2 separate regions of the Homo sapiens genome follow, and region 2 is linked to region 1. Evidence: promoter capture Hi-C in human tissues and cell types (Jung and others, 2019). All regions are on one chromosome and are shown on one strand. Each heading gives the region's core, a stretch centred on a gene start or on the middle of the fragment in contact. The rest is flanking DNA. Distances are from core to core; before and after follow the strand shown.

Evidence for each region. The method cuts DNA at HindIII sites, captures the fragments that hold promoters and counts their contacts. A contact is called where the count stands out against the background at its distance.
Region 2: a contact is called between the fragment with the promoter of QRFP here and a fragment that was not itself captured in region 1, in 6 of the 25 tissues and cell types used here (H1 embryonic stem cells, bladder, dorsolateral prefrontal cortex and 3 more).

What each region holds. Positions count from the first base shown.
Region 1 is chr9:130,598,018-130,604,257 of GRCh38, reverse strand. The region is part of intron 2 of FUBP3 (far upstream element binding protein 3); the gene reads right to left. Among named protein-coding and RNA genes, the nearest start is that of FUBP3, 22 kb to the right of the region's middle. The HindIII fragment of the contact is 4,064 bases long and covers 936-4,999 here.
Region 2 is chr9:130,891,601-130,898,061 of GRCh38, reverse strand. QRFP (pyroglutamylated RFamide peptide) reads left to right here and starts at 1,250. Exons shown (of 3, transcript NM_198180.3): 1 at 1,250-1,485; 2 at 2,081-2,365; 3 at 4,224-5,355. The coding sequence starts at 4,224. The coding sequence ends at 4,634. RefSeq lists enhancers at 1,755-2,441, 2,442-3,129, 3,918-4,432. The HindIII fragment of the contact is 19,380 bases long and covers 228-6,461 here.

The DNA.
Region 1 (6,240 bases), core at 1,718-4,217:
TTCTAGCTGTGATCTTAGGTGACCCCCTCTCCTCCGACTCAATCCCTAACCACTGGCAACCACTAATCTGTTCTCCGTTCCCAAAAGGTTACATAAAGGGGATCATGCAGTATGTAGTTTTTTGGGATTGGTTTCTGGCACTCGGCATAATTCCCTGGAGATTGATCCAAGTTGCTGGATGTACTCAGCATTTGTTCCGTTTTACCGCTGAGTGATATTCCACGGTATGGCTGTATCGCAAGCAGAACCATTCATCAGTTGAAGGACACGTGGGCTGTTTTCAGTTTGGGACTATTATGAATAAAGCTGCTATGTGAACAGGCTCTTGTGTGAACATTTTCCTTTCTTGGGGATAAATGCCCAACAGTGCAGTTGTGGACTGTGCGTAAGTGCATGTTTAGTTTTGTGACACTCCCAAACTGTATTCGAGAGAGGTTCTACCATCAAGTTGAACTCTGGAAACCTATGAATCCTCTTTTAATTTGGCAACTACTTTTCTTCCCTATTAACAGCTGCGAAGAATGTAACAGGCATTGTACATGAGCTCGAGTTATATTTTTGTCACAACATTGATGCTGCAGGTTTAGCTCATTCATTTTTGTGGAAAATGAATACTATTTTACCTAGCTGGCTAAGCCAACTGTCCACCAACCAGTCACATGATGCTTTGCCAAGGGGAAAAATCTCACTGCCTTTTTCCAACTTACACATATGTATGTACCCATGTGAGTATCATCTCACTTCTGAATTATAATCCTAAAATGCATAGATGGGTGAAGGGAGGGAGGAAGAAACAAATGCAGGTGGCTGAGGTAGGGGGGTAGGGCACAGAGCCTGTGCCAGGAGTTGTCAACTGGATAAAATCAGACCCTGTCCCCTTCACTATTTGTTTTTTTTTTTTTTTTTTTTTGGAGACAGAGTCTTGCTCTGTCGCCCAGGCTGGAGTGCAGTGACACGGTTTCAGCTCACTGCAACCTCTGCCTCCCGGGTTCAGGCCATTCTCCCACCTCAGCCTCCCGAAGAGCTGGGACTACAGGTGCACGCCACCACATCCAGCTAATTTTTGTATTTTTAGTAGAGACTGGGTTTTACCATGTTGGCCAGGCTGGTCTTGAACTCTTGACCTCAGGTGATCCTCCCGCTTCAGCCTCCCAAAGTGCTGGGATTACAGGCGTGAGCTACCATGCCCAGCCTCCCTTCACTGTTTCTTACCAAGGCTCTACCCTTTGTTACCTTGGGATTCTCCATTCAGAATTCTTGCCTGGCCCCACTGCTTGGGGATTTTTCCACCCCAGGTGACCGCCCACTGTACACCAAAAGTGGGGAACGGGAGAAGGGGCGTGGCAGGAAGGGCATAACCTTCAGGGGCAGACGTGACTCTCAGAAAGGCCCATTTTAGGGAAGAGGGCAGACAGGAGGTAAGGAGCTGAAAAAGGAACCTGGGAAGCCTGCCCATGTCCACCGCCCCTGGAAAGCCTTCATCTGCCCTTGATGATGACTGCCCAACCACATCCCAGCCTCACTTTACCTCTTCCCTCTTCACAAAAGGCAAACCTTCCTCCTAACCCCTCCTACTCTCAGGAACTAGGTTTTGGTCTTGGCTTTTCATCCCTCCAATATCTGTCATCATCCCCCATTCAGGGAAAGTATCAACACTTCTGAGATTCACTTCCCTCTTTCCAGAGTGGAGACTGGTGGCCTCAGCACCTGCCTGGGGTGCAGGTCACAGGCAGGGGTCCGGGCATCATGGCTCTCACCACCGCTAGCACTTGTACCTCCTATCTCCTGTCTCTCCTTGAGGTCTGGGATTTTCAAACGTCTTTTCCTCCCTCCTGTCTTCCTTTTCTGTCCTTGCCCTATGCCACAAGTACTGAAACAAAGCTTGGAAAGGATCACAGAAATAGTCTATTTCACTCTTCCTGCAAATAATTCATTTGACAGAACGCCCAAGAATTCGTCCTTTACCCCGTAAGAATACAGCAGTTCCCCCTCATCCATGAGGGATATGTTCCAAGACCCCTGGTAGGTGGCTGAAGCCATGGAGAGTACCGAACCCTGTATACGCTACATTTTTTCCTATACATTGGTGAGTGGGTAGTGTATACAGTGTGGATACACATGCTACTCAGAATGGTGTACAATTTAAAAATTAGGAATTGGCTGGGTGCGGTGGCTCACGCCTGTAATCCCAGCCCTCTGGGAGGCCGAGGCAGGTGGATCACGAGGTCAGGAGTTCAAGACCAGCCTGGCCAACATGGTGAAACCCCATCTCTACTAAAAATACAAAAATTAGCTAGTTGTGGTGGCGCACGCCTGTAATCCCAGCTAATTGGGAGGCTGAGGCAGGAGAATCACTTGAACCTGGGAGGCAGAGGTTGCAGTGAGCCAAGATCGCACCACTACACTCCAGCCTGGGTGACAGAGCAAGACTCCATCTCAAAAAAAAAAAAAAAAAATTAGGAATTATTTCTAAAATTTCCATTTAATAATTTCGGCAGTGGTTGACCGTGGGTAACTGAAACCGTGGAAAACGAAGTCATGAATAAATGGGGAACAACTGTATTATCAAAAGTAGAAAGTGTGGTACTATAAAAGGTGCTGTTCTTCAGCAGGTCATGAAGTAAAAAGAATAAAAAGGACAAAAAAAAAGGTGCTACATAAATAGCAAAGACGAGTCTTTGAGTGAAGAGGCAGGCATAGTTTCAAAGCCCCTTGCATGGCCTTACCCCCGCCACCCCAGTGGTGAGGACAGTGCTGTACTCTCCTGAAGTCCTGGTTTTGGTGCCACCCACTACACAGAATGCAGGGGGAGTATGAGGCCTGCTTAGTTCAACTAAAAAAGCTCCTAAAAATGCTCCTGAGGAAGAAAACTGGAAAGGCTTTGATCTTTGATCAGGAGAGATACAGAGGGACAAATGGGAAGTGACTTCTCTGTCTGTCCATCAGCTCTGGGCAAACATGAGAAAGCACTTGTTTCAGGTGGTTAGGGCAGTTGGACAGTGAACCATGAGACGGGAGACTTGTTTAAAGAAACTGGGGGAGGGGTACTCTCTATATACTTCCCTAACTAAAGATGAAGAAAATGTTTTCATCAACTGATGAGGCTGATTTTAGTTGAGGGCTGGCAAATTAAGCTTGAGGGCCAGCTGCCTGTTTCGGTGAAATATCTTATTGGCTCACAGCCATGCTCTTTGTTTATGTAGATGCTACAGCTGTTTTTGAACTCCAATAGCGTAGCTTAGTAGGTGGGATACATAGCCTGCAAGCTTAAATTTATTTTTGTTTGTTCTGAGATCACTATGTCACCCAAGCGGAGTGCAGTGGTGCGATCACTGCTTACTGTGGTCTTGACCTCCCAGGCTCAGGCAATCCTCCCACCTCAGCCTCCTGAGTAGCTGGGGCTGCAGGCATGCACCACCACACCCAGCTAATCTTCTTTCATTTTTTTGTAGAGATGGGGTCTTGCTATATTGCCCAGGCTGGTCTCAAACTCCTGGACGCAAGCAATCCTCCCACCTCGGCCTCCCAAAGTGCTGGGATTATAGGCATAAGCCACCATGCCTGGCCCCTAAAATGCTTACTATCAGGTCCTTTATAAAAAAGCTTGTTGCCAGGTGCAGTGCAGTCCCAGCTACCCAGGAGGCTGAGGTGGGAGGATCACCTGAGCCTGGGGGATAGAGGCTGCAGTGAACCATGACTGCCCCACTGCACTCCAGCCTCAGCAAGAGTGAGACCCTGTCTTTAAAAAAAAGAAAGAAAAGCTTGCCAACCTCTAATTTAGATTACATTTAAATTCGCACTTCTAAATCACTTAGCTAATACTATTGTCTTAAATTTGGAACTTACTTTTCCCAAAATTTAAAAATGCAAATCGTAGGAAACACGGGAGAACTTGAGCATGAAAAACATGGGAGAACTTGAGCATGAAGAGTCCATGGGAAATGAAGCCAGTCTTTATGGCCACATCACGTAGGCTCTGCTAGGAGAGGTGCACAGCGGGACCCAGTAACCGCGGAAGGAAGGTCTGCCCTGAGCAGAGGGCAAATACACTGCTTTAGAAATTCAGAGAAGGATATGACTTAATATTCACTGGTCAGGTGGGTGTGTGAAAAAGGGAAAAGAGGGGGAAAGAGGGAGGGAGGGAGGGAGGGAGGGAGGAAGGAAGGAAAAGGTAGAGAGAAGACCAAGAGGCTAGGTGGCATGTGGGCTGAGCCCCGAAGAAAGTCAAAAGATAAGGAAGAGGACAGGTTTCTAGGAAGAAGTTGGCTGAGCAGGAGTTGGGCAGGTTAAGAGCTGGGTGAGGGGAGAGAGGAGACAGGCAGCCAGGCTGCTACACAGGAGGAGCACAGGAGGTGCACGGGAGGAGCCAAGCGGGAGGGCAGGCAATGGCCAGGTTGCAAGATCTGCACCTCCCTGGTTACTGGAGGAATGAAACTGGTTGGACTGACTGCAGGGAGAGGCTCCAGTTGAAACATGAGAGAAGTACTGGATGAAAAAGGTGCCACAACTGAGACCAGAAGGCAGATTCCTGAACTGGTGGGGTGCCAAGGATGCATATCAAAGACTGCTGGAACATGTGGGTATCAAGATTGAAGACAGTGAAGGTTAAAATGGCCTGATCCAAAGCTGGAGGGCGGTGGAGTGACTGGTGACTGCTCTTCCCACGGACAGGCATTCAGGCAAGCTTTCAAACTGAGCTCTAAATTCTGCTCTGGGTTCTAAGCAGACTCATGAACAGCGTTCTGACAAGTGGCTCAAAACTGCCACTCTCTGAAACACAACTAACCCAAATCCCTTTCTATATCAGGAACAAATCCTTTCCCTTGTTCCACTGCCTAGCATATTAAAAAAAACTTTACATATATATATATATACACACACACACACACACACACACATATACTTATATATATGTGTATATATGTGTGTATATATGTGTATCTATATATGTATATATGTATTTTTTGAGATGGAGTCTCACTCTGTTGCCCAGGCTGGAGTGCAGTGGTGCGATCTTGGCTCACTGCAACCTCCGTCTCCCAGGTTCAAGTGATTCTCCTGCCTCAGCCTCCCAAGCAGCTGGGACTACAGGCGCGTGCCATGACATCCAGCTAATTTTTTGTATTTTTAGTAGAGACGGGGTTTCACCGTGTCAGCCAGGATGGTCTCAATCTCCTGACCTCGTGATTTGCCTGCCTTGGCCTCCCAAAGTGCTGGGATTACAGGCGTGAGCCACAGTGCCCGGCCTTATTTATTTTTCGGAAATACGGTTTTGCTATGTTGCCCAGGCTGGCCTCGAATGTCTGGGCTCAAGCTTTCCCACCACCTCAGCCTCCTGGGTAGCTGGGATTACAGGTGTGAGCCACCATGCTGGGCATCTCTAGGAATTCTAAGAGGAGATGGCCACTGTTTTTAGATGTGGGAGCCTTTGGGGGAAAATTCTTTAGACTCACACTGAAGATTTTAAGGGGATGGCACTCACTTGATTGTAAAAATTCGTGTGTATTTACAAAGTGTTTATGACCACAAAACAGAAAATCCACCCCAGGGCCACTGGAACTAAGATAACCATTTAAACTACTTATCCAAAATAGTACGCTGTGATCTTTTTATATTTGACTGGTGTTAGTGATTCCCTAGGCCAAATAGGGATGATTGCATTAACTGCATTTTTGCCTTAGCAGAAAGCTGTAATGCAAAGTAACCTCTTTACCTTTTCGAGGCAATCATACTTTGGTTCCTCTTGAGACAGCAACGTAAAAACAAAACTAAGTTGTCTGCCTCTGTGCACACACCTCACTAACGGACAGTGTCTCTTTGGCCCAGTGTTTCCAGAAATTGAGATCAATATATTTCACAACTCATTCAGCCTTTCACAACAATTTCACAATTCAGCCTTGTTTTTTTCACCCACTGCCTGGCGCTGAAGGGTTAAAACTTGTGCTTGCAGTGAGCAGGTATCTGCTGCGTCCTCTGCATAAGGAATACCTAAATATTTGCAAATGAAACCCTCTAGCATTTTGCAGACATTTTTCTCCCATTAGTCCATTGCACATACATTTGAAAGAAATTAGCACTAATAAAGAGATTATCAGTATTGATAAAGAGAACTGGGTCACAGGCAGATGTTAGCTGACTTGGCCAAAGATCACCCAGTAGGTCCAGAATCTCACTTAAAACCTCGGGTTCATTTATATTGCGTATTTTCACTTACTTGTTTTGATAACCATATTTTTTTCC
Region 2 (6,461 bases), core at 1-2,500, 300 kb before region 1:
AGGGAACCCCACAGGCTTCGAGGTGGTCCACGGACTCCACCCCCAGAGCGGCTTCCTGCACCACCAGCCCCACCACCCTCACGCCTCGCCTCCCTGCATTTACCCGACAGCAGAAAAAGCCTCCAGCGCTGGAAGCCGCCCCGATGGGTACTGCCACTCTTGGACTGATCTAGCCCCGGCCACCCTGTGCATCCAGGCAGCCCAGACCCTGCCTATCTCGGCTGCTGGTGGCAAACAGTGGCACAGTTGTCACCCCCAATTGCTCAAGAGGTGGGGGAACCCAGATGCTTCCAGGGGCCCAGGAAGGGCATCTGAAAGCAATTTTTCCGTCCAGGAGTTCCAGGGGTGGAGGGGACCAGGCAAGTCCCTGGAGTCAGAAGGTTTGGCACCAAATCCAACGCCTGACTGGGCTCCAGGCACCCCGGTCTGAAGGGGGCAGGCGGGGACCTGAGGCTGGGGAACATGTGGGCCACGTGGGGACCCCTCATCCTCACCCCAATATTGCTCCCACCCCAGACCAGCCCCTCACATGCAGGACATTCTGTGACCACCTCTCAGAGCCACAGACCTCAGTCCCGCAAAAGGACTCCGGGCCCTGGTGGTTTCAAAGCAGAACCTTTTCTGGGAGCTCAACATGTCAAACACAGCAAAGTGGGGCTTGGCCTGAGGGGCACAGGGGCGCGTGCAGGGCACAGGGGTGTGTGCGGGGCACAGGGGTGCATGCAGGGCACAGGGGTGCGTGCGGGGCACAGGGGTGCCTGCGGGGCACAGGGGTGCATGTGGGTCACAGGGGTGCCTGCGGGGCAGAGAGGTGCCTGTAGGGCAGAGGAGTGTCTGTGGGGCAGAGGGGTGCGTGTGGGGCAAAGGGGTGCCTGTAGGGCAGAGGGGTAGCCTGTAGGGGAGTGGGGTGCCTGTAGGAGAGGGGTGCCTGCGGGATTGGACCCCATGTTGCCTTCCCCAACTTCCATGGCCATTCCTGAGGAATTCTGCAAAGCACAGCTTGGGAACTTGAACCTCGCTTTACACCAAGGGAGCACTGAGGCACCCAGAGGGCAGGCATCCGGTCCAGGCTCATAGCACGGTAGAGACCCACCCTGGGCGGCACCCCATGGATAACTGGTGCCCGCTGTCAGAATCAACCAGCACTAACCAGGGAGACAGAAGGACACCACACCTCCCGTCTCACGAGCACACACACGTGTACGCACGTGTGCACATACTCATGTGGGGGCATACACACACATGCACACACAGGACAGGGGCACCTCAGGCCATCGGAGGCAGCCCTGGCCTGGGGGATGGAAGCTGGTTCTGGCCAGCAAAGCTCAGTCATCGGCTTCAATCCGCAGACCCTCCGCCCGAACCTGGGCGCTCAGCCCCGAAGTGGAGGATCGAGATTCCAGTGCCTTCCTCAGGTCTCTGGGGAAGTGTCCACAGGCTCTCTATTCCCATGACTTCTGATCCCCCAGCAGCCGGGATGCAGGGGTAGGTCGGCTGGGTGAGGGCCCCTGGAATGGGGGAGGCCCTCTGTGCTCAGTTCCTGACAGTGGTGGGGTGGGGCTGCCTCATCACCCCCCTGCCTGCTCTCAGTGGAGGGAGAATCTCTGCCGGGCAAGGAGCAGAGGCTGGGTCCTCCTGCTGGCCTCCCAGAGGTGACCCTCGGTGACAGTAGGGGGCCACCCAGGGTATGCGGTGGGAGGGGCTGGGGGCCACAGGCAAATGCTCCACTGCTGTCCTGGGCATCTGCCGTGCCCCCTTGGTTGGTTCCTGGGTAACAGGCCGCTGAGGGCTCCACCTGCCGGGGAGGTGCACCTGGCTTAGCCGCGCAGCCCGGTGCCTGTGAAACACGGGCCTCATGGGTGTCTGTGGCTTTCCTGCCCATGAAAGCCATCCTGCAAGCTGGGCAGTAGGTGTGTCGGGTAGATGTCCACCCACCCCATGTCCTCTCCGGAGCGTGAGGTGCCAACCCAGCAAAGGCAGGACCCTTAGGGTGAAGGGTGGGCTTGGAACCCCCGCCAAGGGACTCGAGGGTCTGTGCCCGCAATTTGCAGTTAATGATGCTGTCTGCTCTCCTCCAAAGGGCAGCCCGCCTGCCCTCTCATCAGACTACATCCTGTGTGAGGTTGTTTTTATCAACGCGGTCAGCACTGCCCCTCTTCAACAACAGCGTCCCCAATGGAATCCCAGGGTCAGGAATGCGCAGCAGGCAGTCGGCAGAGCAGCAAGCGCACCGCGGGCCATATAAAGCAGGGAGAGCCCAGGGGCCATGCCTCCTGGACGAGGACCCAGAGCAGCTCTGCCCAGCCCAGCCCCGGAGCCCAGCGATCCACCAGCCAGCCTTCCTGGGAGCAGTCCCAGCCACACGGTGAGCATAGCTGCCCTGTCCCCAGCAGGAACCCCAGCTCAGGCCCTGCCCAGGCAGGAGCCAGGCATGGGCAGTCAGAGGGCACACAGAAGCACAGGGAGGGAGTGCCCGGAGAGGGGACACCAGTGCCTCCCCTGCCAACAGCCCAGAGCAGCACAGATTGGTCACGGCTGCCCTGCCAGGGCTGGGACCCAGCCTCACCCGTGCTTTTCCTGTCCCTTCCTGGCTGTGGGGCCTGAAGCCCTGACTCGCGCTGGGGCCGCCTGTCCCGTGATGAGCATCCCCACTTTCTACCAGATTCTTGAAGGGGTGCATGAACCCCTAAAAGGGGTGAAGGGCCACTCCAGGGCCTGCTCTGTCAGGCTGTCTCCTTTCTAGACACCCAGAGGCCACTCCCGGGTGGATTTATCCACCAGGATGCAACGGTCCCTGGTCCACATCGCAGTCAGCAAAGTGCTTCCTATGGGGAGGAGGGAATGGGCTGGGCCGCTGCAGAAAGTCACCTCGTGGAAGCCCCCACTCTGCCTGCGCCCTGATGGAAAGGTTTTCCTGGCAGCATGAGGGAGGTCACTCCATCCCTGGGGGACGAAAGCTTAGAAGAACTGGATTTGGGTAGAAAGTGGGGTTGCATGTATTATTTTTTTAAAAGCTTCCTGGCTGAGCTCGCTTCTTTGAAATGTGTTCGAGGGAGCCATTTCTGGAAAGGGCTCTGGGGACTCCTGTACTGTCTTCTCCAGGGCCGGTGCTCTCTAGTCTAGCCTCAGTTTGACTCTGCGGAGGACAAGCCAGCTCCAGCTCCCCCGCGGTCATTGTCAAAAAGGTTTTCTTTGCCAGACAAGGGAGCAAGTGTTACCAAGGCAGGTTCATTACAGGAGGCTGGGTTTCAGATCCCCCGAGTGCCATGTGGAGTACAGAGGAGGGAGTTAGGGCACGCCTTCCTGAGTCAAGCCCAGTTAGACCTGGGATTGAACTCTAGCTCTGGCACTGATAAGGCCATGAGATCTGGGGCAAGTCACCTCAGCTGTTTGAGACCGACACCACCCCTGTGAAATAGGAGGGTTGGGAGTACCTAGCAGATATGTATGCTTCTTGAAGAAGCCGTCTGGCCATTAGAATCATGAATCCAGAGCCTCCACTTTCTGGCTGTGTGGCCTGGGCACAATCTCAGTTTTTCTGACAGTTTTGTTGCCTGAAAAAGTGGGACTGGCCGGACCTACCAAGCAGGAGTACTATGAAGATGAAGTACAATCACATGTGTGAGCTCTTGGCTCAGAGCCTGGCAGACCTACGGTGCCCAGGCCCCAGTGGTGTCCACACACTCCTTCCCAGGTGGGTGTCCGAATTAGGCCAGGACCATCCAATCTGTTTCTGGCTTTCAGGAGCAACTCGTTCCCACGTGAAAGAGACATTAGCAGGATGTCCCAGCTAAACAGCATAGCTAGACCCATTTATTATCCAGTTGAACACTAAGGGAGATTGATGCTTTTAACTTTCCACCCCATGGCTCTGCAATGATATGGCCATTTTATAATAAGAGAAAAATGAGCATACATTTGCTGACTCTCCCGGGGCCGCCTGGGCACTGCTCTGCCAGCCAGCAGCGGTGGATTTACGGTGCTAAGCTGCCCAGGCACGCAGATCGTGGGGACTGCAGGAGAAGAACCGGCCTAACTGGCACAATCACCTCCTGATCCTGCTAATAAAACAGTGGCCTAGTCCCAGCACTGCTCGGAAGCCGGGCTCAGCTGAGCCCCCTGCTCACATCTACGCTGCCAGCCTGTCCCGGGGAAACATTTTGGTGAGTTGCGCTTGGCCACGTGTGCAGCCTGTCACTCTGCCTCTCTTTCCTCTGGGTCAGATGGTAAGGCCTTACCCCCTGATCTACTTCCTCTTCCTGCCGCTGGGCGCCTGCTTCCCTCTACTGGACAGAAGAGAGCCCACAGACGCCATGGGTGGCCTCGGAGCTGGAGAACGCTGGGCCGACCTGGCCATGGGGCCCCGACCCCACTCCGTGTGGGGTTCCTCTCGGTGGCTGAGAGCTTCACAGCCACAGGCCCTGCTTGTCATAGCCAGGGGGCTGCAGACATCGGGCAGAGAGCATGCTGGCTGCAGATTCCGCTTCGGGAGGCAGGACGAAGGCAGTGAGGCCACCGGCTTCCTCCCTGCTGCGGGGGAGAAGACCAGCGGCCCGTTAGGGAACCTGGCTGAGGAGCTCAATGGCTACAGCAGGAAGAAAGGCGGCTTCAGCTTCCGCTTCGGTCGGCGGTGAAGGGCCAGGACGCCTTGGAAGGATTTGCTTCTTGGACTCACCCCCATTGTCTTCACTCCTGCCTTCTCCCCCAGTCTCAAAGACCACGACACCCAGATGATGTAGGCTTGGTTACGATGAACGATCCATGGTAGGACAGGTTAGGTGTGTGCTTACTTTTGATTTCCAACTTTGCTGAAGCGAAAAACTAGGCAGTGTCAAAAAGGAGGCTGTCTTGGAGCCTCGGTCGTCCCAGCCTCTCTCTTCCCCTGGGGCTTTGACTCCGAGCAGCCCCCTGGCCCCAGGGGCACGGAGCTGAGGCTGTGGCTGGGCCATGAGTGTGAATAGCAGAGCGAGGCAGCGGGCTGAGTGCTTACAGTTGGGTAATCAAAGTTGTGACAGTCTCTATAGGCACGACTGCGGCTGACATCAGAGTGCAAATGAGTGCATTCCACTGGGTACAGAGGATGGTTCTGAAAGTTAAAAATGGGAAAAAAGAACCCGATCCCCTTCTCCATGCCATGAGCACAAGATCCCCCTGGCAAGAAGCCCCTGCTGTGGTTTGCCTGCCCCTCTGACCGCAGCCCTTCTCCGCGGCCCAGTGTTAGCCCGGCCAGGAGTCTCCTGGGAGATGCGTTGGGAAGGAATCCCGTTTTTGCTATAGCAAGGTTGCATTTCACATGTTCAAAATCAGAATATGTCGTGTGTATCTTTTCAAATAAAAGTTGTGACAACTGCAAAACCATACTGGAATGCTGGCCTCCCCCACAGTCTGAGTTCTGGGTGCCTTGCCTTTCGGGAGATGGAGCTCCTGTTGACTGGACCCAAACACCCCTCCTCTAGATCCCTGTAACCGGCAGTCGGTCAAAGGGGCGGAGGAACACAGCACATGTGCTTTTCACTTCCACTCGGCTGCTCCTTCCCAGGTTTCCTAAGAGCAAGGAACATTCGGAAAACAACTTCTCTGCCCCGGGGAGAGCCCACGCTCAGCCGGGAGTGGCTGCAGGCCCGGGGCCAGGCAAAGCATCTGTTTCAAACGCGCCTTTGGTGTCTCCTGCATCCCATCCCGTGTCAGAGGCGGCGGTCGGATGCTGCTCACTCCCGGGCTGGCTTCCGCTGCTGAGATGAGAACTTACATTGATGTTACTATGGCAACCCCTCCCCTCCTCCTTTCGAGCTGCAGCTTGCCCCTGTTCACAATTGAATAATTTCCCATTGAGCTGTCACAATTAATTGGTGGATTTTTATTAGCCTTTTAGAACCACACTGGGCTGGGCCCAGCTTGGCACCTTGGAGTATTTCACAGTGTTTTCCATGCTATTAGTGACTTATACTCCTCAGTAGCAGCTCTCAATCCTTGGCAGCCAGAAAGCCACTTCATTAAGGGGTGACAGATCTGAGCCACAAAGAACCAACCTGACTGGGGAGCAGAATGGGTGCTGAGATGGGAGAGAACACCAGAGTCAGAACATCACCCGGTATGAAAGCTGCCACCTTCTCCAGGAGCTCCTCACCGCTTCCCCATCGCTTCCCACACAGAAACTAGCCCCCCAGGCTTGGCGCATGTGCCCTGAGTCTTAGGGCTGCTGTGATGGGGACAAGACAATGATTCCTGAGGCTGGTGGAGGGGTGGGGCACATTGTTCTCTTGGGCTCTGCCACTGTCTGAGGACAGAGTGGTTCAGGATGCCTCCTGCAAAGGGATGTTGTCACTGCTTGCTAACATGACACTGATGGGGACGGACACATCCCCGGGGTCCTTGCTGTAAGGACGGCCCTGGCACAGGGTGAACGGACAGATTCGTTCACCACAGGTGTGCACACACACCCCATTCTGCTTGGCTTAAGG